Regions from separate parts of the Homo sapiens genome. Here regions 2, 3, 4, 5, 6 and 7 are each linked to region 1. Evidence: promoter capture Hi-C in 16 types of primary human blood cells and fetal thymus (Javierre and others, 2016). All regions are on one chromosome and are shown on one strand. Each heading gives the region's core, a stretch centred on a gene start or on the middle of the fragment in contact. The rest is flanking DNA. Distances are from core to core; before and after follow the strand shown.

Region 1 (4,261 bases), core at 936-3,435:
TACTTAAAAAATGCTATTGATAACCTGTTGCTATTTCTGCCTCAGTCTCTTAGGAAATGTATAAAACAGAAAATCACATATCTTCAAAGCTCTGGAGCTTTACATGATGAAGATAAGCAATGATTTCTCATTTCATTCTTTCTCTTAATCAACTGAATTAATTATATACTCATTTTCATTTGGATATGATGACTAGGCAGACTTCAAGTATAACCATCCATAACCTTGCTTAATGCCATGATGTTTGGATTTTTTTCAAAGAGAGGAAAAAACTCCCTTGGCTTCTATTACAGCATCCATATTTTGTGCCATTTTAATTTTTTCTTGTGTCTTTTTTCTCTCTCTTTGGGAAATATCAGTATCATTCCTTTTGGTAAATTTTAAATCACCACTTAATTTCCAATAGAAAAAATGTTTTAGTTACACCTAAAATAATCCCAAACCTCAAACACACTGTGAGCACACCAGAAAGTAAAAATTATATGGAGTAGAACAGATTAGCCCAGAATACCTCCCATTCATTTTCCCAGGTTCCTAATTTAATAATTTCAGTGACTTTAATTTATCACAGACCCTCAGTCTGAACTCGGCATGAGCAGGGTAGACAACCAAACCTGAAAATTCAAGTTAAAATTCTTGTTTGGGAGCTTATATTATCTAGATTAATCATCCACAAGGATCAAGTCAGCTAAGTAACTCTGGTTCAGCTTAATCTCTGTGGAGGCAGAATTAGTCCTTTACAGTCTAGGTCCTTGCCCCAGCCCCATACATTTCTGTCTGCTTTTTTCTTTTCTTTTCTTTTCTGTTTTGAGACAGATTCTCGCTCTGTTGCCCAGGCTGGAGTGCAGTGGCACAATCTCGGCTCACTGCAACTTCCATCTCCTGGGTTCGAACAATTCTCCTGCTTTAGCCTCCACACATGCCACCACCGGCTAATTTTTGTATATTTTTTTTTTTTTTTTTTTTTGAGACGGAGTCTCGCTCTGTCACCCAGGCCGGACTGCGGACTGCAGTGGCGCAATCTCGGCTCACTGCAAGCTCCGCTTCCCGGGTTCACGCCATTCTCCTGCCTCAGCCTCCCGAGTAGCTGGGACTACAGGCGCCCGCCACCACGCCCGGCTAATTTTTTGTATTTTTAGTAGAGACGGGGTTTCACCTTGTTAGCCAGGATGGTCTCGATCTCCTGACCTCATGATCCACCCGCCTCGGCCTCCCAAAGTGCTGGGATTACAGGCGTGAGCCACCGCGCCCGGCCTAATTTTTGTATTTTTAGTAGGGACGGAGTTTCACCATGTTGGCCAGGCTGATCCCAAACTCCTGACCTCAAGTGATCTGCCCGCCTCAGCCTCCAAAGTGCTGGGGTTACAGGTGTGAGCCACGGAGCCCAGACTGTTTCTTTCTTAAGCTCTTACTTTCTCATGTGTGAGTTACCTTGTAGGTTTCCAAGGCAGAGGGGACAAGATGGAAAAGGAGAACACAGAAATCTAGCCTGGAGGAGCTGCTCTGTTCCTGTATTTATCTGTGTAGGTGTGAATGAGGGAGAAAATGACAAGAGAATGACATTATTTTAAGGCTGTTTTCCCCCCCCCAATCATTTACTTTTTGAGAAATAATTGCCCAATACTGAAAGGTATGTCCTTTCAAAATGTTGATGTTTCAAATGGCTTCCTAATTACCTAGTTATACGGGGGGTGTGTATGGTTATCTGAAGTTACATGGGTATACACTGGTGGTGTGAGGTGTCCAGAGAGAGGAAAGGAAGAGCAGTCCTGGTGGCTCAAACCCTGAGGGATGTGCGGGGGATGGGTGAGAATGTGAACAGACATGTTGGAAGCTGAATCCGTGCAGTGGCACCCATGCCTGTAGCCATCTCAGTGGGGGGTCCTTCTACGAACAAGCTTTGATTAATGATATTTTAATGCTAGTTTAGCTTTTTAGCACTCCCACGCCTAAAGGCTCTGATAGAAGCAAGGCCCCCACCCCTGCAAAAAAAAAAATCCATGATTTTTACGCATTCCAACAGATCTCTTAAGGGGCAGACGGCCGGAGAGCCAGGTGTGCCAGGGACCTATGGCAGCAGGGCTGAACGTGCCCGCTCCAGCCTCTCCAGTGCTGGGAGAGACCTCTAGATGGTGCAGGTGAGTTTGCAATGAGGGAAAGCCCCTCGGCAAGGACTGAGTTTCCAAACTTGCAGACAGGGCAGGGAGCGGTCAAGGAAGAGTTCCCGGGAAGCCCTTTAAACGGAAAGGAAGCGGGGCTAGTGTCAGAGAGGTGTGCCAGGTCCCAGGCAGCCCTGCTGGCCCCTAAGGACATAGAGTACCTGCTTCTGAGAGGGCTGCCACGGTGGCCACCTGTGAAGCCTGTCACCCAGAACTGGATGGTACCTGACTTTCTTCATAGACCCATCTTCTGCTGGGACTGAAGCTGACCTCCAACAGAAGCCAGGTAAGCCCTGGTCCTTTCCTCTGGTTTTCTAAACTCTTCAGCTGTGGCCGAGACGGAGGTGTCATGGGCTGGGAGAGAGGCTGGGTGCATTTTTGAAATGCATGTCATTTTTGGGTTGCGTTTGAACAAGCTTTACCGATTGCAGTATGTCTGCGCTACCAGTTCTAAGACCTGAGATTGTTCCTTTGTTTTAGAAAAACATCAGAAACCCTGTTTTGCTGTTGGTTGCACATTTGGTTAGGGAGACAAATTCTGTGTGTGCTTCACAGGCTTTAAGATTTGGGCTACTGAAGCAACGGGTTCCTCCAGGGAGCGTGAAAAGTATGTTTCTCAGGTTTGCCCCTGTGCCCGGCTCACTGGGGAAGGCAGGCGCGGCAGGGACTCTAGCTGGGCTCTGTACCTGCCTCCAACTCTGCGTACCCGCTGTGACCTAAGAGACCTTCCAAGTGGGGTTTCCAGTCGTGTCTGAGACCCCCCATATCCTGGCCTCTGTGTTGGTGGCGGGGGAGCGGGGAGAGGGAGAGAAGGAGGGGAGTGGGTACCTATTTGTGATGATTGAGGTTTTCATTTCCAGCCAAGAGGTTCCTCTCAACACTCTGACAGACCGTGGGGTGGGTTGGGCTCCTAGACAGGAGTCGGCTCTGATTCAGTCGGCTCTGATTCCCAGCCTCCTGCAGCAGCCAAGCTTTGAGATGTCAGCTCAGGGAGAAGCGGGTGGCTGGGCAGGGAGGTCAGCAGGCGAGGTTCCCACTGGGTTTCCCTGCCCATGTTGTGCTGGGTCAGCAACAAGAGGGACAGTTAAAATCAACAAGCAGGGCAGATGCCGGTCAGTGGGCAATCCCACACAGCCAGGGGTACACGCATGTGAGGAGACGTACGGAGAGACAGGAGCACCACCGTCCTCTTCCCCAGTCCCCAGGCCACTGCTCTGTGGCTCTCAAGTGGCATTTTTGAGACACTTTCTAAGCAAGAGTGAAAGTGTAACAAAGAAGTGAAGAGCCATAATAGACTGAAGGAAAAAAGGGATCCAGGCATCTAAAATAGAGAATGTTTCTTGCCTGGCTTAATACTCTGAGATTTGTAAGTCATAGCCACTTAAAACCTTTAAAGATACATTTTGACAGAGGCCACCAAAAAGAGAGTGACTCTGGTCAAGGCTTGGAAATAAGCGTTCGTTCCGATGACAGTCCACGTGTACCCTTCACGGCTGGGAAAGTTTGGCGATCCTGGTGGCGATTGGCCGGGGGTCTCCACTGTACCCCTCCCCATCCCTAAGTGGGCCAGGCTGTGCTGTGGGAGGATTAATTTGTGACAGCACAGTTGGAGGATAATCTTGGAAGGACCAGTCTTTGGGAGGAAAAAGTAAATACACTTTCCCTGAAATGCTTGATTTTCACTCCCTGGCCACTACCTGGTTTCTTGCTTTTGTGAGCTGGACTTTCATTTTGTTGGGCATACACATTTGTGAAGCACAGACATGTCAGGGGCTCATCTTTGTTTCTCAGGCATCATGGTACCCTCTTGCCTAGCCCAGTGCCTGCCATTGGGCGGCAGCCCAACATTGCTCCGGAGTGCAGACAGACCTGGTCTTACCCCATCTCACGGAGCGCAAAACCTACTTGCCTCTGTTAAATGGGGAGCCTCTTCTAGTCAAAGTTCCTCAGGTCTCATAGGCCCACAGATGGAAGCTGGGTTACCTGACGCTCCTTTCTGGGTCCAAGTGAGTGCGTTTTGTGGTTTCCAAAGAATAGAATTTATTCTCAAGGAAATGCCCAGGAACCCAGCTTCAAAGACTCAAGCAAATCTGAAATTCAAA
Region 2 (4,261 bases), core at 1,155-3,654, 500 kb before region 1:
TTTTACCTGAGAGCCCTTTTAGGATGGATAACTCACACAGGGGGATCCAAGCCAGGTACGCCTCTAGCCCCAGGTGAAACCCAAGCACCTGCAGCCCCACAGCCCACAGCCTTAGTGGGCCATGTTGCCTCAACCAGACTCAGTTTCCAGATCGGTAAAAACCTAGGCTGAACTATGTGAAGTTGCTAGTAAGCATCGAAATGAATGAATATGGGCAATTTCAAAGGGTTCAGTCTGACGGACTATATACCCTTGAAGCCATGATAATTCAAGGGATATAGACTTGAAGCCGTCTTGAGTAACATCACAATTCTAAGACGCCGAGTGGGTTGAGGCTTGCGAGGGAAGAGCTGCTCCCTGAGTGGGACACATAGGCCCACTGGGGACTCAGCCCAGGGGCCTGCTCCAGGATCCCCCAGGGTTGAGGGGGCACAGACCACTCACTGCCTAGTCTCCCACTATTTGCACTCAGAAACACTTGGTCCTGACACATTTCCTGATGGCTCCTTTGCAATCCCAAACTCAGGAATCAGATGGATGCAGAACATGAAATAACACTCCAGTTCCCAGACTCGTTTCATCCAGCACTCACCACCCAAGCTCGGGACCATGTGGATCTGGGTGTTGAGGTACATCTGGTAAACCTAATCCCAGCAAGGCCACAGTGTCCCTGCTCCCCGAAGGTGGCTCCAGACCTCAGAGGCCAAACCACAGCATGCCACAGAGCAGACAAGCCCCTGCACTTACCTCTCTCTGGGCAACAGCTTGGGCTCGGGGCGGATGGCAGCCATGGACAGCGGAGCTTGCCGGGAAGGAGATGTGAAGTTTAGATCCAAGGAGCCTGCCTTCCTGTGCAGAGGCTCCATCCCCATGGCACCCTGCATCTCGCTCTCTATGGGGCAGGACCCTGCCCTGCCGTGGATGGACAGTGAGGACACTTCGGGGCCCACTGCACCTTGGAGCAGGGCGTCCACGGCCACCTGGGGGTCGTGGGTTGGAGACACAGATGGCGGGGAGCGTGACTTCTTCTTGGTGGATGCTCCGGCTAGAAGCTTCAGGAGCCCACTCTTCTTCTCTTTCTGGGGAGACACACAAGATGGAAACCAAACAGGTGAATGCTTCCCAATGCCCTTGCTGTCAGAGAGAGGGGAATGCATCTTCCTATGTGGAACTTTATTTTTAAATTTCTTATTTTTTCAGACAAAAGACTTTACCACTCACAGCAACAGCAGTAGCCAGAGTACCAGCATTTTCTTGCACCAGTTCCCTGAACCCCAGTTCCCACGGGTGAACCAGTGAGGGCCAGGTGACGCTTGCAGGCACACCAGGCTGTGTTAAAGCAGAGGACCTGGAGCTTCGGGACACCAAATCCTCTCTACTGGACTGTGAGGATGCTGGCCCTCTGCTCCGGAGTCAAGCAGTAAGCATGCCTGCTCTTTGCTTTGAAGACTGACATTATTTCTATTTTCCAAGGCTGGTGCCTACATGGACATCTTGAAAAGATAGGCCAGCAGATGGCATCTCAGTTGTAAGATGGGTAGAAGGGTGAGAGACCCATGGAGAATGGTTCCATCAGGAAACTTTAAAGATAACCTTGTAAAGTGGCTCAGAGGAGGAAAACAAAGCTAAGACCAAGAGCTCATCCAGGCTGGGCACGGTGGCTCATGCCTGTAATCTCAGCAATTTGGGAGGCCAAGGTGGGCAGATCACTTGAGGTCAGGAGTTCGAGACCAGCCTGGCCAACATGGTGAAACCCTGTCTCTACTAAAAATACAAAAATTAGCTGAGTGTGGTGGCACTTGCCTGTAATCCCAGATACTCAGGAGCCTGAGGTGGGAGAATAGCTTGAACCCAGGAGGTGGAGGTTGCAGTGAGCTGAGATTGCGCCACTGCACTCCAGCCTGGGTGACAGAGCGAGACTCCGTCCCCCCCGCCCACCCCCCGCCAAAAAAAACCTTGTCCGACACTTGTTTTCCTTTCTCTTCCAAAATCTAGCAGAAATGTCCAAAATAGGCCCCGAGGCCCCCAGGGCAGGCCAGTGATGCCATTCTCAGAGAAGGATGCTGCTGACGGGCCATCCCCGACAACACAGCCCTCTCTGTCACGGGACCCTGGCCAAGCCTGGCAACGTCATTGTCTGTGTAGAGGAACCAGCAGTCAATGTCATCTGCTTTCTCCTCCCCCAGCTCTTCTAAGTGGACTTTGTAGGACAGGTGACACGGTTCCTGATGGGACTTTCCGTGAGGCCCAAGCCACGCTGGGGTCTGGTTGTCTAAGAGCACAACTGCTCCGGCCCCAGCCAAGTCCCCCCAGGCCACATGCCTGGATTGTTGTTGCAGCTGTACCAGGGTCTGGGGGCCTGTGGCTGTGGGATACTGCTTAGTGCCCGGTGAAGGGTCTCCACCCGATAAGGTGTCTAAAGGGACCATCCCCATCACCCTTGGTGACCAGCATTTGTTCCACTGTATTCATTAATCCCACTGCATTCAGAGCCTGTGCCCCAGGCACTGCTGCTTATGCAATAGAGAGGGAAAGAGATATAATGAAGGTGTGCCCTGGGCAAGTGTGGATCCCAGCCTCCAACTCCACTGCCTGAGTCTCGGCCTTCGCTCCCCACTTTTCTCAATGTGTTTCCTCCAAGGCTGGACTCATCCTGGAGGTCAGCTGTTCCTGCTTTCAGGCTCTGTACTGACAGTCCATGGGGAGTTCTGGGTGATTTCAGGAGGAAGAGGCGGCCCAGCTCTGAGCCATGCAGCACGGGGATCCAGATACCTGACTCCGCTACTGGGCTTGCAGCCTCCCGGCCTATCTCCCCTCTGCCTCACTCTCCCTCCAATAACTTCCTGAAGGTCTTGTGCACCGTGCCAGGCCCTGGAGGTTGTGAGCAATAGGAAACAGCCTAGAGCAATCAGTTAGACATGGATTTCGTTGCAGCCCTTCATGTGCTGGCAGCTCAAAGTGTGGTGTTTCCCGAGTCTAGTTCTCAGAGAACTCTTGTTGGCGGCACAACTTGAGGGAGAGTGTTCCCAGGAACACACATCGGGAACTGCTTGGGTAGAAACTAGAAAGGAAAAGAAGAAACCGTGAGGGGTCGGGGGCAGAACCCTGGGATCTGAGTGGGGTGCCTGGGGGCAGGGAGTGAGGAGGCTTGTTCAGGCCACGATGTAGGCAGGGCATAAGGCCTGGGGATGGGAGACCCTGCAGCTGGGCCCGTCAGCCCCTCCGCAGGCCAGGAAGGAAAGAACTGCAGTACCTGGGGTGGGAACTGGCTCCCCAGGAGGCCTGAACCCACAGCAAGAGTTCTTGATGAGAGGGTGACCTTGCCTCCAGGGGACAGGTGGCAATGTCTGAAGACATCTGGGCTGTCACAACTCAGGGGTGCTGCTGGCATCTGGTGGGCAGATCCCAGGGATGTTGGTAAACATACTCCAATGCAAGGGAACCCCCCATGGCAGGGTTATCTGGCCTCAAATGTCATCAGTGCTAAGGCTGGGATCCCTAGGTCACAAGGACAGCAGGCCAGGATGCGGGGACAGAAGCCAGGCCTGCCCCAGGTGTCCCGGCGGAGCCCACTCTGCAGGCTCTGGGGCTGCTGGCCGCTCCTCCCCTCCTGGCAGGCAGGAGACCTGGGTGGCCTTGCGTTGTCCAAAGGAAAAGGAATTAGCCTTTCTCTGCCCACTTCTGTTTCCTCTTCACCATGAAGGGGCCTGGTGGCTGTTCATCCCCGTCTAGGCTCCCCTCTAGAATCAAAGCTTTGGAAGTACAGGGGTCGTGTTTGTTTTGTTCACTGCAGTATCCCCACCAGCGCCTAGCACGGTGCTGAGAACACAACAGGCATTCAACACTTGTTTGCTGAATGAACTGAGTCCAGCTGAGGGCTCTTGGGCCCGTCGGGGAGAGCCCTTCTGGCCCCTGAGTAGAGAGGGACTCGGTGGGCAGATTCTTGCTCCCAGGGCACCTTGGGCCCTGTGGGCCTGGACGTGGGGTATGGTGGAGCTGGAGACGCTGAGGCCCTGCTGCCTCACTGCCCAGCTGCTGAGAGTATATGCAGTCAGGCCCAACCTTAGCTGTCTGCTTTGGAAAGGGTGGGGTGCGTAAATGTGATGGATAATTTTCCTGTCTCAATTCTCCAGGATTAAATAAACTAAACACTTAATTAACTTGGAAAAACGCTGATGTCATGGCTAGAAAACCCTCTCCAAAACGTCCGCCTTCCAGGACAGAATTCTGCTAATGCCTTAAGCATCAGTTATTACCAATC
Region 3 (4,261 bases), core at 1,132-3,631, 480 kb before region 1:
ACAGCCTGACACATAACTAACTGTCCGGCTCAAAACTTCAGCTCTTTCTCCCACTGCTAAAAGGACTGCTGCAGACAAATGTGCCCACACCCACCTCCCTAGAGAGCCACTGCATGGCTTACACCTGCCCACACACAGGTGTGTGCTCTTACGCAGGTGCGGCCAAGCTTCCCTGGCCACCTGCGTCTTCTGAACACCTGCCACCTTCCTCAGCCCGGCCCAGACTGTGCATCAAATGGAAGCCACGAACCCCCAAACCAAAGGTGAGGAGGCCACACAGAGGCACAGAAAGTCTCCAGCATCAAAGCCCCTGTCATAACCTCATTGGCCTCCAGCACCTTCCAGGACAGAGTCTATAAAGACTTTCTGCCCCTGTGGGAGGGCAGCATTACCCTAGGGGTAATGACAGCACTGCTGATGATCAAGGGGCACAAGGAGAGCGGTTCAGGGGCACAAGGAGAGCGGTTCAGGGACACCCCAAAAAAGAGACAGCCTGCGGCTAAGGTGCTGGCTGTGCACGGGGGGCTCAGAGGCCTCTCAGGCTCAGTGTTACAGGGGAGGAGGTAGCCTGAGGCAGGCAGGAGTGGGTGGGGTGGGTGGGTGGCTGAGTGAGCTGGGCACGGCAGCAGGACATGGCACGCTGCTTCCTCCCTCCACCTAGGACACATATGCTCCCTCATCCCTCCCCCTTGAACCTTGTTTGTGCTTTAGGTCCCATTCAGAAACCATCTTCTTTGAATCCCAGATGAGCAGTTACAGAGGGTTTATTTCTCTCTCCTCTCTGTCGCTCTAACCCTGGCATGGCTCTGTTGCTCAGGCCTTCTTTATCACCTATATCTGCTATTTTACATCCCCCACAGCCTCCCCAAATAAAATAGGGGCTCAGACCTCATTGTATTTGTCCCAATTTGGTGCCAAATGCTGATGGGGGCCTCAGAGCACGCCCTATTCTGAACACGATGTCAACTTGTGCTTGGTAACCAGCCACAAGCCCAGGCACAGCTGCCCATGGCCAAGAGGCTCTGGCTCTGCAGGGCCCAACCCCAGCTCCAGGCTCCCAGTGGTGCCCAGGCGTCGAATGGGGCCAGCCCAGGCCTGTGTGAGGCGCTCGTATGTCTAGGCAGGAAGCCGCTTCCCTGGGAAAATCCATCACAGAGCTTTGCAAGAGTTAACTTGAGTTAATGCTGTTAAATGAGGGGCGATTAAATGCCAGGCTGTCAGTTCTCTTTAGATTCTTGGGACTCGCATCTGAAAGGCTGCAACACCATGTGACCCTGTCTCCTTGCCATCTCAGCCAACACATTATCTTTTCACTAAGGTAGGAAAGGCCCCACGAGTCGGGTAGAATTTATAGCACCACATTCATTCATTTAAAATTGCTTCAAAGGAGATTAGGCCAAAGGTAGGACAGACAGAAATAAGAGGCTGGAGCAGGGCTGTCTGCCCTGGGATATGTCTGAGTGTGTCACGACCCTGTCCATTAGGATAACTTTGCTGTGTGTTGGATTTCCAACGGGCGTCTGGCTGGCTTTCTGTAGGACAAATACAACACAGCCATAAATTATTAGATCAAATGGAATGCATTCAGATGAAATCTCTGTAAAATCTGGCCTCCTTCTGAAGGATGTCTGGAATGAAACAGGAAAAATTAAACACACTATTATTTAGTCAGGTATGGCAAGCTCACTTCCTGAATTTTGTTTTTAAATGAAACAGATGGATGGAAATCACTTCATCCAACCAGAAGGCAGCCGCAGGTCGGTTCATCAATTGGATCGGGGTTTCTGAGGCAGCAACCGTAAATCAAAGCTCTTCTTTCCACAAGTCCTTCCTGATGGCTGCCAGCTTGCCAAGCCCTGACGGGAAGCCCCGTCGGGAAGCCCCGCAAGCTCTGCAGGATGGTTTGGATTTCCTCTTTCTGTGCTTCTTAAGGAAGATTGCTTCCAGGACACCCTGCATGCACACCGGCCCGAGACCACCGAGAGTGCAGGTGAGGAGGGCCCGGGAGGCCCCTGGCCGGGTCCTCTCCTGCCACCGTCTTCCTGGAGCAGCCCAGACCCTGGCCAGGTGGCACCTCCCTGAATAAGTGCCCTGATTTGGGCTTTTATCCCTATCTAATTTTTAACTGGGGACTGCTCCTACATTTCTATAAGGAGCTGCTACCATGAGGTCACAGGTGGTTGTTAATCATATTAACTAATTAATAATAATTAACAATCTAATTAATAATTAGAAAAGGATGGGAATTTGAAAGAAGCTGAGATGTCAGAATCCAGGTGCACACTGTGCTACAGGGCCACACAGTGCAGGGGGCCCAGGACTCTGCTTCTCCCTGAATTGGCAATATAACCATGGAGGAAAATGGCCTGCTTCAGACCAAGTTACATGAACTGCTGTTCACACAGCCCCTGCCTTCTAGAGAACTGCCAGGCATCTGCTCTCCCTGTGTCTGCATAGTCTCAGCAAATAGAGTGTGGAAAAAGTTTAACAAGACGTGCCCCATGCAAAAAGGCAGGACAAGCTATCCAGGACTGTGCATTAGTCTATCTCCTATGGCTAAGCTCTTGGGACCGTCTTATTAGGTATGTGAGGCTGAGACAGCAAGGGGGTGAGTGGAAAAGAAAGAGACTTAGACCCCGCCCCAGCATGTGTCCTGGAGCAGGTGGCTTGGACAGCAACCTCCTCACCCATGGAATACAACAGTGTCTGGGCCTACATGAGCTGTTCCAATGATGAATTTTGCCACTGACTGATATGGTTTGGCTCTGTGTCCCCACTCAAATCTCATCTAGAATTGTAATCCCCATGTGTCAAAGAGGGACCTGGAGGGAGGGGACTAGATCACGGGGGCAGTTTCTCCCATGCTGTTCTTGTGATAGTGAGTGAGTTCTCATGAGATCCAATGGTTTTATGAGGATTCTTCCCCCTTCACTTTCTCTTCTCTCTCCTGCCGCCTTGTGAAGAAGGTGCTTGCTTCCCCTTTGCCTTCCGCCATGATTGTAAGTTTCCTGTGGCACCCCCAGCTGAAACTGAGAGTCAATCAAACCTCTTTCCTTTATACATTACTCAGTCTCAGGTATTAATTTCTTTTTTTTTTTTTTTTTTTTTTTTTGAGACAGAGTCTGTCGCCCAGGCTGGAGTGCAATGGCACGATCTCGGCTCATTGCAAACTCTGCCCCCTGGGTTCAAGTGATTCTCAGCCTCCCAAGTAGCTGGGATTAGAGGCACCTGCCAACACACCCAACTAATTTTTGTGTTTTTAGTGGAGATGGGGTTTCACCATGTTGGCTGGGCTGGTCTCGAACTCCTGACCTCAAGTGATCTGCCCTCCTCGGCCTCTCAAAGTGCTGGGATTACAGGCGTGAGCCACCGCACCCAGCCTAGTCTCTGGTATTTCTTTACAGCAGTGTGAAAATTGACTAATACACTGACTCTGCCTCAGGCAACAGAAGAGATTTCTTATCATGAGGAAGAAGGAATGAAATGTCAGCACCCTTTGTTTGCTGTGAGCTGACTTCCCTGCAAAGGGTCTCTCTAAGCTGTGGCCTGTGGAACAGGGGTGGCTGAGCCGAGGCCTCTACTTCCTGCACATCTGCACCTCTGGCTCTGCTATTTCTGTGATGACCCATCCTCCACCAGCCCCGGCCACAGCAGTTTCTAGGCACCCCATGCGTGGCACTGTCAGAGCCAGTCCAGGGAGCTTGGTGTAACTGCCTGTCCTCCTCCAGACTGCCTTGTTCAGCTCTGCACGTAGAGTACTGAGCCAGGGCTTGTCCCAAAGTGGGTGCTCCACAAATATTTTGTTAAGTCAATAGATGAAAAATAAGTGAATGACCAGAGGGCAACTACACTCAAGTGGGTGGTGTCTCCCCAGACGTGCAATAAGGAAGAGCAAATTCTGAGAACCAAAGATTGACAAGGCGCTTCCAGGGACTTGTTGAGATCCAGCAAAACTCTGGAAAAGATGATCTTTTCCAGATGGAGCAGGAGTCTACCCGAAATGCAAGCATGGATTTCACATGTGGCTAGAGCTGCTGGGTGCTGTGGGTCATCCTTCTAACTCCCATCACTTATTGATGAGGAAATAAGTCATTCCAAAGTAATCTCATCTCTTTACGTAGTGAGGTCCCAGGAGCCTTTGGTGAGGAGACAGGGCCACCCCAGCCACCCCAGAAGGGACAAGGAATCCTTGTAGTTGAGAAGGTGGCTTTGTCTTCATTAGCCAGAAGACAGCTCTGTGGTTGCCCACCACCAGAACGGG
Region 4 (4,261 bases), core at 595-3,094, 450 kb before region 1:
TCATTTTTCTGTCCTACCTCTCTCCTCTACATTGGAGACCTCCAATTACACGTATATTAGGCCACTTAAAGTTGTCCCATTGCTCACGGATTCCATTCATTTTTCAAAATTGTCTTTTATCTCTGTGTTCCACTTTCCACGGCTTCTATTACTATATCTTCAAGTTTACAAATATTTTTTCTTCAGCAATGTTTAATCTGCCATTAATTCCATCTAGTATATTCTTGATCTCACACACTGTAGTTTTTATTTCTAGAAGTGTGATTTGGGTCTATTATGTCTCTACTTAACTTTCTGAGTATGTGAAAGGCAACTGTAATATCATTTTTAAATGTCTTTGCAACATCTATGTCAATTTGGGGTCAGTTTTGATTGATTGACTGATCCCTTCATTATAAGTCATATTTTCCTGCTCCTTTGCATGCCTCATAATTTTTTATTGGACATCAGACATTGTGATTTTTATGTTGTTGAGAGCTGGAATTTTTTTTTTTTTTGTATTCCTATAAATATTCTTAAGCTTTGTTCTGGGACAAAGATAAATTAATCAGAAATAGTTTGACTCTTGAGTGTTGTTTTTGAGCTCTGTTGGGTGAAATTGGAACAGTGCTCAGTCTGACCACTACAGAGGCAAGGTCCTGTGTAGATTACTCAATGCCTGGTGATTTCTGCAATTTTTCCGTCTGGCTGGTGGGAACAGGCACTATTTCCAGCTGGTGTGTATTCTGGGCACTGTTAGCACTAATCCTTTCTTTCTTTGATTCTTTTCCTGGCTTTGGGTACGTTTCTCATGTTCATATGCAGATGAGTTGTCACCTGAAGATCTCAGGGCGTGCTCTGCAGCCTCTCTGTGCTGTTCTCTCCTCTCTGGTCACTGCCCTGGAAACTCAAGCCCTCTCTGTCACACAAACTCTGATCTCCACATCCTCGGGGCTCCTCCACCTGGTTACCTGCCTCCTTTTGCCACTGCCTGCAACTTCTCTCATGAATCAGTCCTTGGTTGTCTGGTGTCTTGAAAACTGTTGTTTTATATACTTGGCTTTTTAAATTTGTTTCATGTGGGAGAGTAATTCCTGTCCTCATCACTTCAGATTGGCCATAAGCAGAAGTCTAGCTCAATCTTTTAAATACAAAAATATGACTATGTCTATTATTCAACACCCTTTGATGTGCCCCCTTAGGATAAACATCTAAATTCCTTACGTGGTCTAGAAGAACCTCCATGCTCTGCTCTGCTTAGCTTTTCGGCTTCACTGCGGGTCTTTCTTTGCTCCCGCACCCTATCCGTATTCCAGCGTCCATGGGCCCCTGGCCTCGGCGGCCCAAGAGCTCCCCATGCTTCCCCTTCCTGAGTGCTTCCCACACTCTCCTACTGCTGCATGCTGAGCTCTACCCACCTTTCAGATTTAAAGGACAGTATGCCTCTGCAGGGAACTGTCATCTACACACTGGACTTCTCCTTCTTCCATAGCTTTGCTTCAGTCATGTCACAACTAAATAAAGTTCCCCAAAACAAGAGTTATGCTATTCCTCATTGCCAGGCCATTGCTCATGCTGGTTCCTCTGCTCTGAACCTCCTTTCTCTTTTGTCTGCTCAGACACTTCCTATTTGTCCTTTAAGATTCAAGGCATTATCACCTCCTCTTGAAAACTTTCCATATGCCCTACTCCCAATCCCCCTCCTATTTTCCTCCCCAGTCGGAATGAATTCCCTCCTCCACACTCTCTTAATACCTAAGCAGGCCTCTTTTGCAGCCCTTTAGCAAACCCACCACAGAACTTTGTTTTCTAGTCATTCTCTCTAACCGGGGTGGAAATGGGGCTTGTCTGGTTTTCCTCTGTTTCCAGACCCCTGCAGGGTGCCTTGCCTGTATCTAGCTCCTTCTCGGTGCTTTTTTGCTGATGAATTCATGGCTATGCTGGGCTCTTACTCCTGCTAAGCACAGACAGGAGTGTGCAAGGAACACTGGCACTTTACAGGGGGTGCTCTGCCTTTGGGAAAGGAGTTACATTAATCAAGTAGAACAAATCATATTGGATGCTATGGCCAATGCAATTAAGCCTTTGTCAAACTGCCTGACTTTGGCTCGAGATGAGAACATTGATGAAATGCCTCCCACCCATCGGGGTTGGGGTCTGCTGAAATGGGCAATTACTGCAGGGAACAATCCATTACTTGGACTGTCAACAGTGTTTTTTCTCTCTCTAAATGCAGAATGAAGTGGAAAATGCCGCAGGAACTCAGTGGCATTTAATTTACTGATATGGCTCAGTAGGAGTCATTCTTTAACCTGGCTGTGACAGCAATAGCGTGGGGACAAGTGCTGGGCTGGGATGCACTGGGGAGCCGTTTAACCATCCCGTGCCTCACTCTCCCCGTGTGTAACATTAAACTGATGGAAGAGAATGCTCGTGGCACCCTCATGGTTACTATGGTGATGGAGGACTGAGACACAATGTTGCACTGCCCCACAGCCTTGCCAATTTCTTTTGATCCTGCTTGTTATTCCACAGAGGGAGAAGTGACTGGCAGGGCTCCATTTCTTCTTTGAATTGGGAACGTTTCTAGCAAGGCTTGGTGTGGAAAGACCATTATACTGGCTATTCTGGGCAGACAACCCAGGGCCACTGCACTGGGATGCTGACTCACCGTGATGAGTGGGGCCACTCACCCTTTCTAGTGCTGGTGCATGTGGAAACATTTGTACAGAACACCGGGCTGATTGGATGAGATGTTTATAACCAGAAGGGACCTGGCCTGGGACTTTTGCTCCCCTGGTCCTGCCTGGGTGCTCCAGTGGCCAAACAGATCAGCATATTGGCTGCCTCTGACCAGTCAGGGAGCACAACTTCAGATCACCAGATCACTTGCCAACTGCAATGACTGTATCCCCAGCTAGAGGCTACCAGAAAACACAGATCCACGTAAACCATGCTGAAGGACGGCTGATCAGAAGGTCATGGGTTGCAGGGTGGGCTTGGGCACCAGGTAATATTGCTGCAGATTCTTTCCCAGGGCCCTGGAGCCAGGGGTGTGAAAACCAAGAATCATTCTTAGCTGATTTAAGTAAAAAAGATACTAGTAGAGACTTACAGAATCTGAGATGGCAGAGTAGGTCTTGAAGGCTCTGACACCAGGGTAGTCCTCAGACCACCCATGAAGCTTTCCTAGTGCTAAATTACCCACTGCTTGACAGGTACACCACCAGCACAAGGCTGAACACTGGGCACCTGAAGTCCACCTGCACCCACTGATGGTGCCAGACATTGGGCACCCAAAGTTCACCCTATACCTGCTGATGGTGCCAGACACCAGGCACTCAAAGTCCACCTGCACCCAGTGACGATGCTGGGCACTGGATACCTGAAGTCTACCCTGCACCCACTTGGGTGGGCAAGTGGATGACAGACACTTACCTCCCACCCCTTGTCCCATCAGCTAAGATAAGGAAGGAAATATGGCCTCTGCTGACCTAAGTGTTGTCTCCTCTTTCCACACTTGAGAAGCTGCTTTCTGGACACTTCTAATGGGTCATCGTGTTCGTTAGTCTAAGAAATAGTATATTTTATTGCTTCCATGAATTTACATTATTTTTGCCCTTTAAGCCTCACTTTGAGAAAAACAGATGATTTCTGAGAGGACAGGGTTGGGGTGGGAAGAGAGATTCTGTGTTATCCCCTCTTGTCCTGGGGTACTTGGCATCATGTCAGCATCACTGGCTCCACCGTGGTGGAAGACGCCGTGGCATGGGCTCCCAGATCATCCTGCGAATCCAGCATCAGCAGTTCTTATTAGCTCAACACTAAGCCACCAACCAAGATGTGCTTACCTTCTTTATGCCTTTAAGGCCCACCCCATAATTTCTTTTCATCTCACAACATCCTGGGGCCAAACCGGTTTTCCTTAAGTTTCTCCAGCTGCCATGAAGGCGAAGGATCAACAGCTGTCATTCCTCCTGCCTCAGAGCACTTCAGAAAGGGAAGAGCCTGGGCCCGAGTCTCACCCCAGCCCTGTCCTGTGAGATGCCGCCTAGCTGGGAAGCCCTGCAGGGCCCGGCAGATGGAAGACCCACGTGGCCGGCCCACAATCATTCATGGGGGAGGCATTTGAAAGTGCCGGTGTTAATCTTATTAGTCTATGAGGCCCTCTTGCCACAATGAAATGTGTAAATATTTGTAAATTTACTTCAGCTGCCAGGATGGGTAACATGATAAGGCAAGTGAACTTCCTGGAGATCAGACGTTCACGAGCATGACAAGA
Region 5 (4,261 bases), core at 784-3,283, 420 kb before region 1:
AACCCATCAGGAAGTGCGAGGGAGCCCAGCCTGCACCGGCAGAGGGCAAGGGAGTCAGGAGGGGGTCTGGACACGCTCAGGGGGCTGTTAGTAGGAATAGCAGCCGCGACTGTAGCACCCGTGATGGTAGCACTCGCCCTGTGCAGAGTCTACCATGGCTGGGCCCAGCTCTGAGCACTCCCCCTGGAACAATGCTTTCAACCTTCGCAAGCCTGCAGATGGGTATTTTGAACTCAGGCAGCCTGCTTATTATTTTGAACTCAGGCCACGTGCTTAGCCACCACACCGTGGTGTTAGTTCCTCACAGCTGCTGAAACAAACAGCCACAGACTCAGGGGCTTACAATCACTCAGAAGGTGTTGAAGTCAGAAGTTCTAAAATCAAGGTGTGGCAGGGCTGTGTTCCCTCTGGGAGTCTGGAGGAGACTCCAATTCCCTGCCTTTGCAGCTTCTAGAGGCTGCCCACGTTCCTTGGTCCCCTCCACTTTAAGGCAAGCAGTGCCACGTCTTCCTCTCTCTAGCCTCTGCTTCCACCACGCCATCCCCTTCCCTGACTCTGGCCTCTGCTTCCCTCTCGGGAGGGCCTTTGTGGCTGCGGTGGCCCAGGTGATCCAGGAGCATCTCCATCTCAGGGTCTTTTCCCGTTTGCCACATGAGGTGACACATTCTCAGGTTCTGGGATCAGCACTTGGACATGTGTGGGGGCCATCAGTCCCTTCTCCACCAACAAGATTAGGTCTGAAGGACGTTGAGGGAGGAGCATGGGCCGAGTTTCTAGCCTTGGCCAGATGGAAATGCTGCTGGAGAGACAGGAACAAGAGACCACAGAGGCCATGGGCTCAGTGCTGGACACGCAGTGTTTGGTGTGCCTGGAGATGTCTCAGTGTGGATGATGAGGGTGCTGGTAATGCCAATCAGGAGCTCAGAAGGGACTGGCCTGGGCAGCAGATCTGGGGTCATGTATGTATAGCTGATCTATGAGGCAATGCAGTCTTGTGGCAAAGCCCTTAGCTCCCAGGTGTGTGACCTGTGTTTGTGACCGTAGCCAAGATGGCGTCTGTGAGCCTCTGATTGCTCCTCGTGTCCATTGAGGGTCATGAACTTCTGCTCTGACCATGATGGTAACAGGGGCCAGGTTTACCCTCCTGCCTGAAAAAACTGAAAAACCAGATGAAACCTGAATCAATAGCTCCCAAGACTATAGAAATCAAGCAGTGGAGGACAGAGTCCCCAAGACATGAGAAGATGGGGTTGTGGCAGCTTGCATGGTCTAGACAGCTGGAGTATGAAGTCAGACAACCCACAGGCTATAAAGCAGTCACTCTAAGTACACAGAATAGGCCCTCAACAAAGGCTCGTGATCGTTGTCCTGAAGCCAACAGGGTAGACGGTGCAGTGGCCTGGGAGACAGTGAGGAGGGAGCATGCCCTGGCCCCATCTGCGGGACACCACCCAGAAGAGGGCCCTGAAGGAGGCCAAGATGGGGCAGCCCAATAAACAGAAGGAGACCCATAGCCCAGGGGAGATGGTGCTTCAGAGGGAATGTCATTGTCCATTGAGCTGCATGCTGTGGAATGGCCAAGGAAGCCAAGGACCTAGAAGGACCCACTGGTCTTGGGAATGCTGACATGCACAGGCGCTTCCTGGGGCAGGTGACTGCCCCTGCTGGACCACTGGTGGGGAGTTACACCTCTTGATCCCACTCATGGGATGCGGAAGACCCCAGTGTGCTCCCTGCAGGGAAAGCCCTCACTCCTGGCTTGGGCCAGTGGACCCACAGTCCCCTGGTTTCTGTCCCATTCTGCCATAGTTAGTAACAGAGAAGTCTGCAAACTCAGGTCCTACAAGGCATGGCCCTCATGACATGTCTATGCTGTGTGGAGGGCTGGTGGGGGCAGGCGTGCTGCCCCAGAGCACAGAATAGGGAGGGGAATGTGGGGGCCAGAGACGTTCTCATACAGCCCCAGGTCCTGGTGATTTGGGCTTGTAGACAAAGCTGTTCTCCATTCTAGAGCGGGAGAGACAGACAGGAAGACACAGAGACACAGAGAGAGACAGAGGTAGACAGACAGAGATAGAAAGAGACAGACAGACAGAGACAGGGCAGGAAAAAAAGCCTGTAGCCCCGGCAGTTTCCTGTTAAGAATGAATCCTAAAATAACCAGACAGGCCTGGGGTGGTGGCTCACGCCTGTAATCCCAGAACTTTGGGAGGCCAAGGCAAGCAGATCACCTGAGGTCAGGAGTTCGAGACCAGCCTGGCCAACATGGTGAAACCCTGTCTCTACTAAAATACAAAAATTAGCTGGGCATTGTGGCAAGCACCTGTAATCCCAGTTACTTGGGAGGCTCAGGCAGGAGAATCGTTTGAACCCATGAGGCGGAGGTTGCAGTGAGCTGAGATCACGCCACTGCACTCCAGCCTGGGCGACAGAGCAAGACTCTATCTCAAAAAATATATATATAAAATAATGATAATCAGACAAGTCAGAAAGGAGGTACAGGTAAGGATTTCGCAGCAGCACTGTTTATGATACGAAAAACCTGCACTCCTGAAGTTCCAGGGTGTGGGGCTGGCAGGCTGACAAGGACACAGAATGCCCCACTGCCGCCTGTGCCGTGGTCTCCATGGACAGGCCTGGAGGGCCATGTAGGGTATGCAGAGTGGAAATGGAGGTGACAGCATTGCATATGAAGGCTTATCTAATTTCTGACAGTGATACGTGTATTTTCATGGCAAGAAGTCAGGAAACTTACATACCAAACCATAACTTTGCTCCTTTGGGGAGTTGCCTTTTGGGATAATTTTATTATTTTTTAATCTACACTTTAATATCAAGTGACAATGGTTTCCTGAAACATTTCCACAGTGGTATGAGAAGAATAACAGAGTTAACACTTGAGGTCTGGCTGACGGTAAGCCCGTATCTTTCTCGATCCCCCATGTGCCATCTTTGTCAGGGGATCCTGGGAGCTGACAAAGGGCAGGGGTGACCCTGCAGCACCAGCAGGGGCTGGGCTGGCAGTTCTGTGCTCCCAGGCACTGGCACTCTGCTCTGCAGCAGCGGGAAGAGTGGGAACCTAAGATGATAGGCACGCACTGGTCCTGCTGTTGTTACCATGCCTGCTGTCCTGTTCAGATAAATGCTCCAGAAACAGCCAAGCTGTCCCAAACCAGCATAGCACAAGCAAAGCACAGCCAGAGCCACGCTGGGGCCACACTGGGAGGGTGGCCTGCCTGAAGCCTGCCCCGGCACTTGGATCTCCACCTCCCAATGTCCTGGAGCTGCTCAAGCCATACTCCAATGAAAGGGGGGCAATGTGTTTGGCCAGGAGAGACCAAGGAGACTGTGTTTTGTCTGCTGGGCAGAGGCTGAAGGCTAGGCTGAGAGTGCACACTGTGCGGAGCACACGCATCGTGGACCACGGCGGCCGAAGGCTCACCATCCCATCTGTGCCGGCATCCACCGACTGCCCTGCGTGAGTCCAACGTAAAGCAACCCACAGGGCTCGGTGTCAGGAGGCTCGGGAGGGCTCAGCCAAGGAACCTGAGGTGTGGACAGTGGGAGCTGCCACAGGGCCCATTCAGGGGTCTGGGGCCTTGGCCACCCTGACACAGGCTGTCCCTAAAGACAGCAGGAGGGAGACATTCTGCCGGCTTCACTGGAATCCTGGCCTTCAGCTGACACTTGATATGGCAAAAGCTCCAAGCAAATATGTGGGATTTAACAGTAAGCTATTACTTAGAGCTGGAATGAAGAGCAGAGAGAGGTCAGATGTGTGGAAATGCTTTTTCCCAAAGGTCAAGATGAAGAATGCCTAAAACTGACATGGCTGAGCGTGGCTCCCGTGTGGCCGGCCTTCCTAGCATGGGTGTGTGGTGTGGTACCCAGGGCGAGGGGTGCGAGGGACATCCTGCTGTGTAGGAGGCAACGCTGGGCTGGGCTCTGCCCTCAGGGATATGAAAACTAAAAGTACAAAGAAATGAGTGGCACACTGGTCGTGGCTTCCCGATGCTGATGGGGTCAGTCCATCCTCTGAATCTGGTCTCTGTTGCTACGGATGCAAACGAGCAGCAATTTGCTGGTGGCCAAGGTGGGAGGGGGTCAGGGGTCCTCCCACTGACAGGCTCAGCAGCACGCTACTGGGGGCCACAGGCCCAGCTGTACAGAATGTGACTCCCAAGAACACGAGGCCTGCTGAGGGGCAGAGATGAGCAGCCACTGCTAACCCTGGCAGGAACTAACTGCAGGGAAAGGGGCC
Region 6 (4,261 bases), core at 512-3,011, 370 kb before region 1:
ACTGAATAAACAACTAATAAACTTTCAAAACAGAAAGAACCAGGACCAGATAGGTTCACTAGTGAATTCTACCAAACATATAAATGAAGAAATTATACCAATTCTCTACAATCTCAATACTTCGCAGAAAGAATATTTCCTAACTTCTATGAGGTTAACGTTACCCTAATACCAAAGCAGACAAAGCCATTGCAAGAAAATTACAGACCTATATATCTCATGAACATAAACGCAAATATCCTCAACAAAATATTAGAAAATTTAATCCAACAAGGTATAAAAAGAATTATATACCACAGCCAAGTGGAATTTATCCCAGGTATGCAAGGCTGGCTCAACATCTAAAAATCAATAAATGTAACCTATCATATCCACAGGCTAAAGAAGAAAAATCACATGCTCATATCAGTAAATACAGAAAAAGCTTTTAACAAAATCCAATACCCATTCATGATAAAAACTCTCAGTAAACTACAAATAGAGGGGAACTTCTTCAACTTGATAAAGAACATCTACAAATAACCTACAGTTCACCTAATTACGAGAAACTTAATGGTGGGAAACTTTAAACTTTCCCACTAAGATCAAGGACAAGGCAAGAATGTACTCTCTGCCCCTGCTTTTTAACATCATACTAAAAATATTTGATAATACAATAAGACAAGAAAAGGAAATTAAAAGTGTACAGATTGGGAGGGAAGAAATAAAACTGCCTTTGTTTACAGATGACATGATCATCTATTTAGAAAATCTGAAAGAACCAACTGAAGAACTTCTAGAACTAATACTTGATTATAGCAAGGTTGCAGGATACAAGGCTAATATACAAAAGTCAATTGCTTTCCTATATACAGGCTGAGTATCTTTTATTTGAAATGCTTGAGACCAAAAGTGTTTTGGACTTCAGATGTTTTCAGATTTTGGAATATTTGCATATACATAATGAGATATCTTGGGTATGGGACCCCAGTCTAAACACAAAATTCATTTGTGTTTTATATATACCTTATACACACAACCTGAAGGTAATTTTATACAACATTTTAATAATTTTGTGCATGAAACAAAGTTTGTGTACATCGAGCCTACAAAAAGCAAAGGGTATCACCCATGCGGACCATCTGTGGTTGTTTGGCATCAGCCTCACTTCTGACTCTGGATTTATATGCTACCAATAAGCAATCATTTTCTTACAATTATTCACACATAAGTATTTAGCAGTAAAAAATATGACATATTATTAATACAGTGAAAAAAATTACATGTTCAGAGTAACTAAGCGGCACAGTAGCCTCTCCAGAATACCTGTATCAGCTGTTAAACAACAGCAACAACAAACAATGGCAGGCTTTCAGTCTCTACCTATGATGCTGTGCTTTGATTAAAAGGTAAGTGTATACTTTTTTTTTTTTTTTTTTGGTGCAAGGAAACATCAGAAGTGGTTAAGGGACCAGTAAGTGGGTCCTCTGTGGATGAGGAAACATTCTGCTGGATGGCTTTTAAAAATATTTTTCTGCAGTCATCTGCCTCATCAACAATGGTCATAGAAATCTCTCTTTTCACGTGGAGAACCTGCCATTGGCATGTGCAGCCTACACATGTGCCATTTTATGACCCTTTATGGTTGTGCTTGCATGGGGGAATCTGGGCATGTGTGGAAAATAAATATCACAGCTGAAGGGGCCTGGGAGGGTCTTTTTTCCCTTGAGGATGCTGAAGAAACTGTGTGTTGTGTGCCTTCATTTTGACTACAACCCATTACATAAGGTCAGGTGTGGAATATTCCACTTGCAGCATCATGTTGGTGCTCAAAAAATTTTGGATTTTGGAGCATTCTGGATTTCAAGTTTCCAGATTAGTGATGCTCAACCTGTACCAGGAATGGACAAATGAAATTTAAGTTAAAACATGATACAATTTACATTAGGTATAAATGTAAATGGTATCATGAAATACTTAGGTACAAATGAAATACTTAAGTATAAGTGTAACAAAATATGTGCAAGATGTATATAGGGAAAATTAAAAATCTCAGATGAAAGAAATCAAAGGAGAACTAAACAAATAGATATTTCATGTTCATGGATAGGAAGACTCAATATTGTCAAGATGTCAGTTCTTTTCAACTTGTTGTATAGATTTAACACAATCTCAATCAAAGTATCAGCAAGTTCTTTTGTGAATATTGACCAACTGATTCTAAAGTTTATATGGAGAGGCAAGAGACCTAGAAGAGCCAACAAATATTGAAGGAGAAGAACAAGGGCCAACACTACATGACTTCGAGACTGAAAATAAAGTTACAATAATGAAGACAGTCTGTCATTGGCAATGCAATAGACAACTAGATCAATGGAATGGAAGAGAGCACCCAGAAATAAACCCACATAAATACAGTCAGCTGATCTTTGACAAAGGAACAAAGACAATACAATGGAGAAAAGATAGTTTTTAAAATAAACAGTGGTAGGAAAACTAGACATCCACATGCAAAAAATCTAGAAATAAACATTCCACCCCTCACAAAAATGAACTCAATATAGATCACAGACCTAAATGTAAAATATAAAACTACAAAACTCCTAGAAGATAATGTAGGAGAAAATCTAGATGATCTTGGGTTTGGCAATGACTTTTTGGATATAGCACCAAAAGCATGATCCACAAAAGAAAGAATTGATAAGTTAGACTTCATTAAAATTAGTAATTTGTACTCTGCAAAAGATACTGTCAAGGTAATGAGAAGACACGCTACAGACTGGGAGAAAATATTATCAAAAGACAACTATGATAAAGGATTATTATGCAAAATACACAAAAAACTCTTAAAACTCAACAACAAGAAAACAGTCTGATTGAATGGTGAGTCAAAGACCTTCACCAAAGAAGACACTTCACCAAAGAAGACAGTGTAGTGTGTAGTGTGTTGATGAGGATGTGGAGCAACAGGAACGCTCATTCACGGCTGGCAGAAATGCAAAATGGCCCAGCAACTTTGGAACACAGTTTGGAAATTTCTTACAAAACTAGGCATGCTTTTACCATGCAAACTAGTAATCACACTCCTTAGTATTTATCCAAAGGAGCTGAAAGCTTATGTCCACACAAAAACCTGCATATGGATGTTTAGAGTGGCTTTATTTATAATTACCCAAACATGGAAGTAACCAAGATGTCGTTTAGTAGGTGAATGGATAAACAAACTGTGGTACATCCAGATAATGGCATATTACTCAATGATAAAAAAGGAAATGAGCTATTAAGCTATGAAAAGACATGGAAGGACCTTAAATGCAAATTGCTAAGTGAAGGCAACCATTACGAAAAGGCTACATATTGTATGATTTCAACCGTATGACGTTCTGGGAAAGGAAAAACTATGAAGACAGTACAAAGGTCAGTGGTTGCCAGGGGTGGTGGAGGAGGGAGGGATGGATAGACAGGTCAGAGGATTTTCAGGGCAGTGAACCTACTTTGTATGGGCCTATAATGGTAGATACATGACATCTCCATCAGTAGACTCTGCACCAAGAGTGACTATAGGCTTAGAGTAATAACGATTTGTCAATATAGGCTCATTGATTGTAACAAATGCACTAACTCTGGTGAGTGATGTTGACAATGCAGGAGGCTTTGCATGTAGGGGCAGAGGTTTATGGGAAATCTCTGTATCTTCTGCTCAATTTTGCTGTGAACTTACAACGGCTCTAAAAATATAACACCTATTTTTTAAAAATCTAAAATAGCACCACAGAGCAATGAAAATGAGCAAACTACAGTGCCCTACAACAACATGGGTATAGCTCACAAATATAAAACTGAGAGAAAACAAAGTTGGACACAAAAATAAATCCTGCGTGATTCCTTGATGTGAAGGTCAAGAGCAAACACAACTCATCTGTAGTGTTAGTAGACATGCGGGAAGGGCGGGCTGGTAACTGTCAGAGGCACAGGAGCCCCAGTATCCATCATTTCATCACTAGGTAAGAATATATTCTGTTGGCCGGGTGCGGTGGCTCACGCCTGTAATCCCAGCACTTTGGGAGGCCGAGGTGGGTGGATCACGAGGTCAGGAGATCGAGACCATCCTGGCTAACACGGTGAAACCTCGTCTCTACTAAAAATACACAAAATTATCCGGGCATGGTGGTGGGTGCCTGTAGTCCCAGCTACTCGGGAGGCTGAGGCAGGAGAATGGCATGAGCCTGGGAGGCGGAGCTTGCAGCAAGCCGAGATCGTGCCACTGCACTCCAGCCTGGGC
Region 7 (4,261 bases), core at 553-3,052, 350 kb before region 1:
TCCAAATTTCAACTGAGATCAAGCTTCCAGCAGAAGCCTTCATTTTCCAGCCTTGCCTGCAGGCAGCCCTGGGTAGGTGTCCACATTTCTGTCCACAGAATGCAAGTGAAAGTGATTCCTGCACATTCTGGAGCATGTTTTATGATGACATGCATAAGGAAATCTGCCTTCCCACGGGCTGCATGGTAGACACAGTAGGGTGGGCCAGTTTTTCCATCAAATATTATGCCCAGAGCAAAGGGGGAAGAAACCTGGGTCTTGGGGTGACCTTGCAGAACACACCCCCATACCATGAAGTAAGAAAAAGGAAACTTGATCTTATCTGAGCCAACACATTTTGGGATCTCATTCACAGCTCAGCTTATATTCTGACTCACTCAGGAAGTCTCAGGTGTATTTACAATTTCTTTAGCTCGTAAGCATTTTTCAAGCCAAGGCACTGACTTTCATAGCACTGTTGAGGGTTATCATTTATGTGCTGTCATCTTTGAAAAGCACTTTCAACTCAGAGACTCTCAGATTTAGAAAAGGCACAACTCTTGGCCTTACCTTATTTTAAATAATGCATTTACCAGAGTGTATCCCATCTTCCACTTTATAGATTTAATCCGCGATGAAGAAGTTTGTTACTGTTATCACACTGCAACCAGAGGTTCCCAGGTTTTTGTTTTACAGATAATTATATTTCGAGTTCCTTTGTCCCTTTTTCTCATTCAAAGCTGCTTGTTGGGTCCAAACTTTTTGTTTTGTCCCCTCTTTTCTTCTGTCAGTTTCTTCCTTTCCCATATTTGCACACTCATTCATCCAAGAATTGATGAAGAATTGATGAAATAAGACAAAGGATGAAAACACGACTTGCCCTTCAAACACAGGGTGACGAGGCCACTACTAAGCTGTTGCGTGGATGCAACTGTGAAGACATAAATTGTCTACAGCTAAGAGCTGCCTGTAGCATTTTCATGTTGCAGCCAGATTGGAGAGGATTTAAAAGCAAATTTTTTTTTTCTTCCTTTTTTTACTTTTCCCAGACTTTGTTGTGGCCTGTTTCCCTGTTGCATCAAAGCAGCGGTTAGGTCATCTGTGGTGGCCTTAGAATGCACCTTTTGACAAAGTACCTTGGGCTTAGTTTTCCCATAAAGCAGAGATAATCAAATCTGCCCTTCCGTGCTTCTTAGTATGCTGAGAATAAAACTGATGATACGAAAAGAGCTTTGTGTCTCTTAATGAAAAAGGAGCTATAAAAACAATGATCATTGACTACTTGCTGAGGCAAACAGATGTTCCAGGACCCTGGGTGCCGGGGCCAGGAAAGGCAGATGCTTCTAAGTGTAGGAAGTGGTCAGTGGTGATCCCTCCTCATGCACTGCAGCAAAAGTCAGATGGGAGAACTGAGGACCGCCCCTCCAGCATCTGCCCATATTCACTGAATAAGTGAATTCAGCAAAGAACCAATGCATGGTCCTTGGGTGTAAACCTTCTCTCACCCTCAGGGTTGAGGTATGTGCTTCTCTGGGTTCCAGCAGTACTGGGGCTCTCATCCAGACCTTGCCCCTTCCTGTCCTGAGCACCTCCTGTGTGCCTGCTGCTCCTACCTCTACCTGCGAGACCCACAGGATCCTTACAGCAACCCTGTGAGCTTGGCCTTATATTATCTGCACTTTACCGATAGGAAATTGGAGCACAGTGAGGTCCAGTAACTTGTCCAAGGTCCGAGAGACAGGACTGGATCCAGGTGGTCTGACCTCCCAACCTGTGCACTGCCAGCTACACACATCACCCCCTCAAAGTAACTCAGCCATTATTTAGCTGCTACTCCCCACCAGACACTCCCGATAACCCGATTACTGCTCACAGGACTCCTGTGAAATAAGAATTATAGTCCTTTTATAAGTGAGAAAAATGTAGCAAGGTGGGCAAATTCCTCAGCATCACAAAGCGTGTAACTGGGCAACCAGCTTCCAACCACCTGCCTCCTCCTCACTCCCCCAAAAGGCGAGGGAAGCCTCTGTGGAGCCCTGATAATTATCTGTTTAATTATGGAAGGGAAAGGGCAGCTGTGGGTCAGTCATCCGTTGGGCCAGGAGGGTCCAGATCTGTTTACATTTATCCAATTCAGAGATGCATTGCTCACTTCCTCACTTTCTGGGAAGAGATCCCATGCTGTGAGCTGGTATTTGCAGTGTTCCCAGGCATGTTCTGATAATGGGTACTTAGAGGAGTACTTGAGCAAGTCCCCAGCAGCCACCAGGCACCTTGAAAAGTGCTCCTTGATCCCTCCCAGGGAACAAAGGCCTCGCTACCGGCAACCCCTGCAGCCCCACCCAGGCACCCTCCAGGGCCTGAATCCAGCTGATGCCTGGTCGGCCCCATCTACCACCTTTCCACCGGCCTTTTGGGCAGCACACTCACGTGGGCCTCCTTTGTGGGTGGCCTCAGGTCAATGGGGCCTTGCACTGGGGACCTGGATCTCCAGCCACCGCAGAAGACCAAGAGGACAGGAGGGAAGAGAAGGAGGGGACTAAAGGCAGAGGATTCCTTGTAGGTCCTTATTTCAACCCAAACCAACCACCACATCATCTTACTATATATACATTTTTCATGTCATTACTTTCATGTTACCCCCCACCCCCCCAAAAAACAGCTGACCCTTGAACCAACATGGGTTTAAACTGCAAGGGTCTACTTATACGTGGATTTTTTTCAATAAAAGTTATACCGAGTGTGCCTCCCTTCTCTGCCTACCCGTCCACCTCCTCTACCTCTTCTCTGCCTGAGACAGCAAAGCCAACCCCTCCTCCTGTTCAGCCCACACAACGTGAAGATGATGAAGATGTAGACCTTTATGATGATCCACTTCCACTTAATGAGTAGTAAATACATTTTCTCTTCCTTACAATTTTTTAAATAACAATTTCTTTTCTCTAGCTCGCTTTATTCTAAGAACACAGTATATAATGTATAGTTCTCCCAAGATATGTGTTGATCAACTGTTTGTGTTATCAGTAAGGCTTCTGGTCAACAGTAAGCTCTTAGGAGTTGAGTTTGAGGGAGTCAAAAGTTACATGCAAGACTTGGCGCAATGGCTCACACACTTTGGGAGGCCGAGGCGGGTGGATCACCTGAGGTCAAGAGTTCGAGACCAGCCTGGCCAACATGGTGAAACTCCATCTCTACTAAAAATACACAAATTAGTCGGGCGTGGTGGCGCATGCCTGTAGTCACAGCTACTTGTGAGGCTGAGGCAGGAGAACTGCCTGAACTCGGGAGGCAGAGGTTGCAGTGAGCCAAGATCGTACCACTGCATTCCAGTCTGGGCAACAGAGTGAGGTTCTGTCTCAAAAAATAAAAATAAAAAGTTACACACAGGTTTTTGACTGTGCCGGGGGTTGTTGCCCTAACTCCTGCATTGTTCAAGGGTCAAGTGTAATACAAAAAGGTAAGAAAAAATAAAGTATCTGTGAGCATGTAAAAAAAAAAAAAGTTTCCCTAAGAATCTGGCTCAAATGACAAAAGGAAGGAGGCCTGTGTTAGAACTGGGTCCCCAGCGCTCAAGGAGTTTTGAGGGTGGCCATGAAGCTTCTTGCAGAAGAGCTCAATTCTGCCACACCCTGCCTGCTCCATGCCTCAGTTTCCGTACCTGCAAAACAAGCGTGCTAAGTATCTGTCTCACAGGGATCCTAAATGTGAGATCGAATGAGTTAATACAGATGAGTTACTCCTAACAGTGCCTGGCACACTGTAAGTACCAAAGGATGGTCTCCTGTTGGTAGCAAATAACTTCCGACTCGGGAAGCTACCAGACAGCAGCACACAGCGTGTTTACTAAAGTTCTCCACATCACATGACACACAGACTGGCAAGCTCCATCAAAAACAGAAGGAGCCTGGGCGCGGTGGCTCACGCCTGTAATCCCAACACTTTGGGAGGCCGCAGCAGGCAGATCACTTGAACTCAGGAGTTCCAGACCAGCCGGGGTAACGTGGCAAAATCCCATCTCTACAAAAAAAAAATACAAAAATTAGCCAGGCGTGGTGGTGCATGCCTGCAGTCCCAGCTACTCGGGAGGCTGAGGTGGGAGGATCACTTGAGCCCAGCAGGTTGAGGCTGCACTGAGCTATGATTATGCCACTGCAGTCCAGTTTGGGTGACAGAGTGAAACCCTGTCTCAAAAAAAAAGGGGGACCTTAGCAAAACAAACTTGACCACCAAGATAACCCACCTGGTAGCATACGGCATATGCTGATAGCATATGGCACAGCCA

The links. The method cuts DNA at HindIII sites, captures the fragments that hold promoters and counts their contacts. A CHiCAGO score of 5 or more calls a contact.
Region 2: a fragment that was not itself captured here is called in contact with the fragment with the promoter of EDAR in region 1 in 8 of 17 cell types (non-activated CD4 T cells, M1 macrophages, total CD4 T cells and 5 more); the score reaches 9.9 in non-activated CD4 T cells.
Region 3: a fragment that was not itself captured here is called in contact with the fragment with the promoter of EDAR in region 1 in 5 of 17 cell types (total CD8 T cells, naive CD8 T cells, M2 macrophages and 2 more); the score reaches 7.3 in total CD8 T cells.
Region 4: a contact is called between a fragment that was not itself captured here and the fragment with the promoter of EDAR in region 1, in 5 of 17 cell types (total CD8 T cells, non-activated CD4 T cells, M1 macrophages and 2 more). The highest score is 6.8, in total CD8 T cells.
Region 5: a fragment that was not itself captured here is called in contact with the fragment with the promoter of EDAR in region 1 in 2 of 17 cell types (M0 macrophages and non-activated CD4 T cells); the score reaches 5.5 in M0 macrophages.
Region 6: a contact is called between a fragment that was not itself captured here and the fragment with the promoter of EDAR in region 1, in 1 of 17 cell types (non-activated CD4 T cells). The highest score is 6.4, in non-activated CD4 T cells.
Region 7: a fragment that was not itself captured here is called in contact with the fragment with the promoter of EDAR in region 1 in 4 of 17 cell types (non-activated CD4 T cells, naive CD8 T cells, total CD8 T cells and 1 more); the score reaches 9.3 in non-activated CD4 T cells.

What each region holds. Positions count from the first base shown.
Region 1 is chr2:108,987,144-108,991,404 of GRCh38, reverse strand. EDAR (ectodysplasin A receptor) reads left to right here and starts at 2,185. Exons shown (of 12, transcript NM_022336.4): 1 at 2,185-2,445. It also overlaps a transcript of RANBP2 not described here. RefSeq lists an enhancer at 3,211-3,712. The HindIII fragment of the contact is 677 bases long and covers 1,901-2,577 here.
Region 2 is chr2:109,487,423-109,491,683 of GRCh38, reverse strand. It overlaps SH3RF3 (SH3 domain containing ring finger 3), which reads right to left. Exons shown (of 10, transcript NM_001099289.3): 9 at 748-1,079. It also overlaps a transcript of RANBP2 not described here. Among named protein-coding and RNA genes, the nearest start is that of SEPTIN10, 120 kb to the left of the region's middle. The HindIII fragment of the contact is 2,700 bases long and covers 1,055-3,754 here.
Region 3 is chr2:109,470,058-109,474,318 of GRCh38, reverse strand. All of the region lies in intron 8 of SH3RF3 (SH3 domain containing ring finger 3), which reads right to left. It also overlaps a transcript of RANBP2 not described here. Among named protein-coding and RNA genes, the nearest start is that of SEPTIN10, 140 kb to the left of the region's middle. RefSeq lists an enhancer at 3,454-3,573. The HindIII fragment of the contact is 4,424 bases long and covers 170-4,261 here.
Region 4 is chr2:109,437,369-109,441,629 of GRCh38, reverse strand. The region is part of intron 7 of SH3RF3 (SH3 domain containing ring finger 3); the gene reads right to left. It also overlaps a transcript of RANBP2 not described here. Among named protein-coding and RNA genes, the nearest start is that of MIR4266, 130 kb to the right of the region's middle. The HindIII fragment of the contact is 2,643 bases long and covers 523-3,165 here.
Region 5 is chr2:109,411,320-109,415,580 of GRCh38, reverse strand. All of the region lies in intron 4 of SH3RF3 (SH3 domain containing ring finger 3), which reads right to left. It also overlaps a transcript of RANBP2 not described here. Among named protein-coding and RNA genes, the nearest start is that of MIR4266, 100 kb to the right of the region's middle. RefSeq lists an enhancer at 1-459. The HindIII fragment of the contact is 8,736 bases long and covers 1-4,261 here.
Region 6 is chr2:109,357,221-109,361,481 of GRCh38, reverse strand. All of the region lies in intron 2 of SH3RF3 (SH3 domain containing ring finger 3), which reads right to left. It also overlaps a transcript of RANBP2 not described here. Among named protein-coding and RNA genes, the nearest start is that of MIR4266, 46 kb to the right of the region's middle. The HindIII fragment of the contact is 2,669 bases long and covers 427-3,095 here.
Region 7 is chr2:109,337,652-109,341,912 of GRCh38, reverse strand. The region is part of intron 1 of SH3RF3 (SH3 domain containing ring finger 3); the gene reads right to left. It also overlaps a transcript of RANBP2 not described here. Among named protein-coding and RNA genes, the nearest start is that of MIR4266, 26 kb to the right of the region's middle. The HindIII fragment of the contact is 3,553 bases long and covers 26-3,578 here.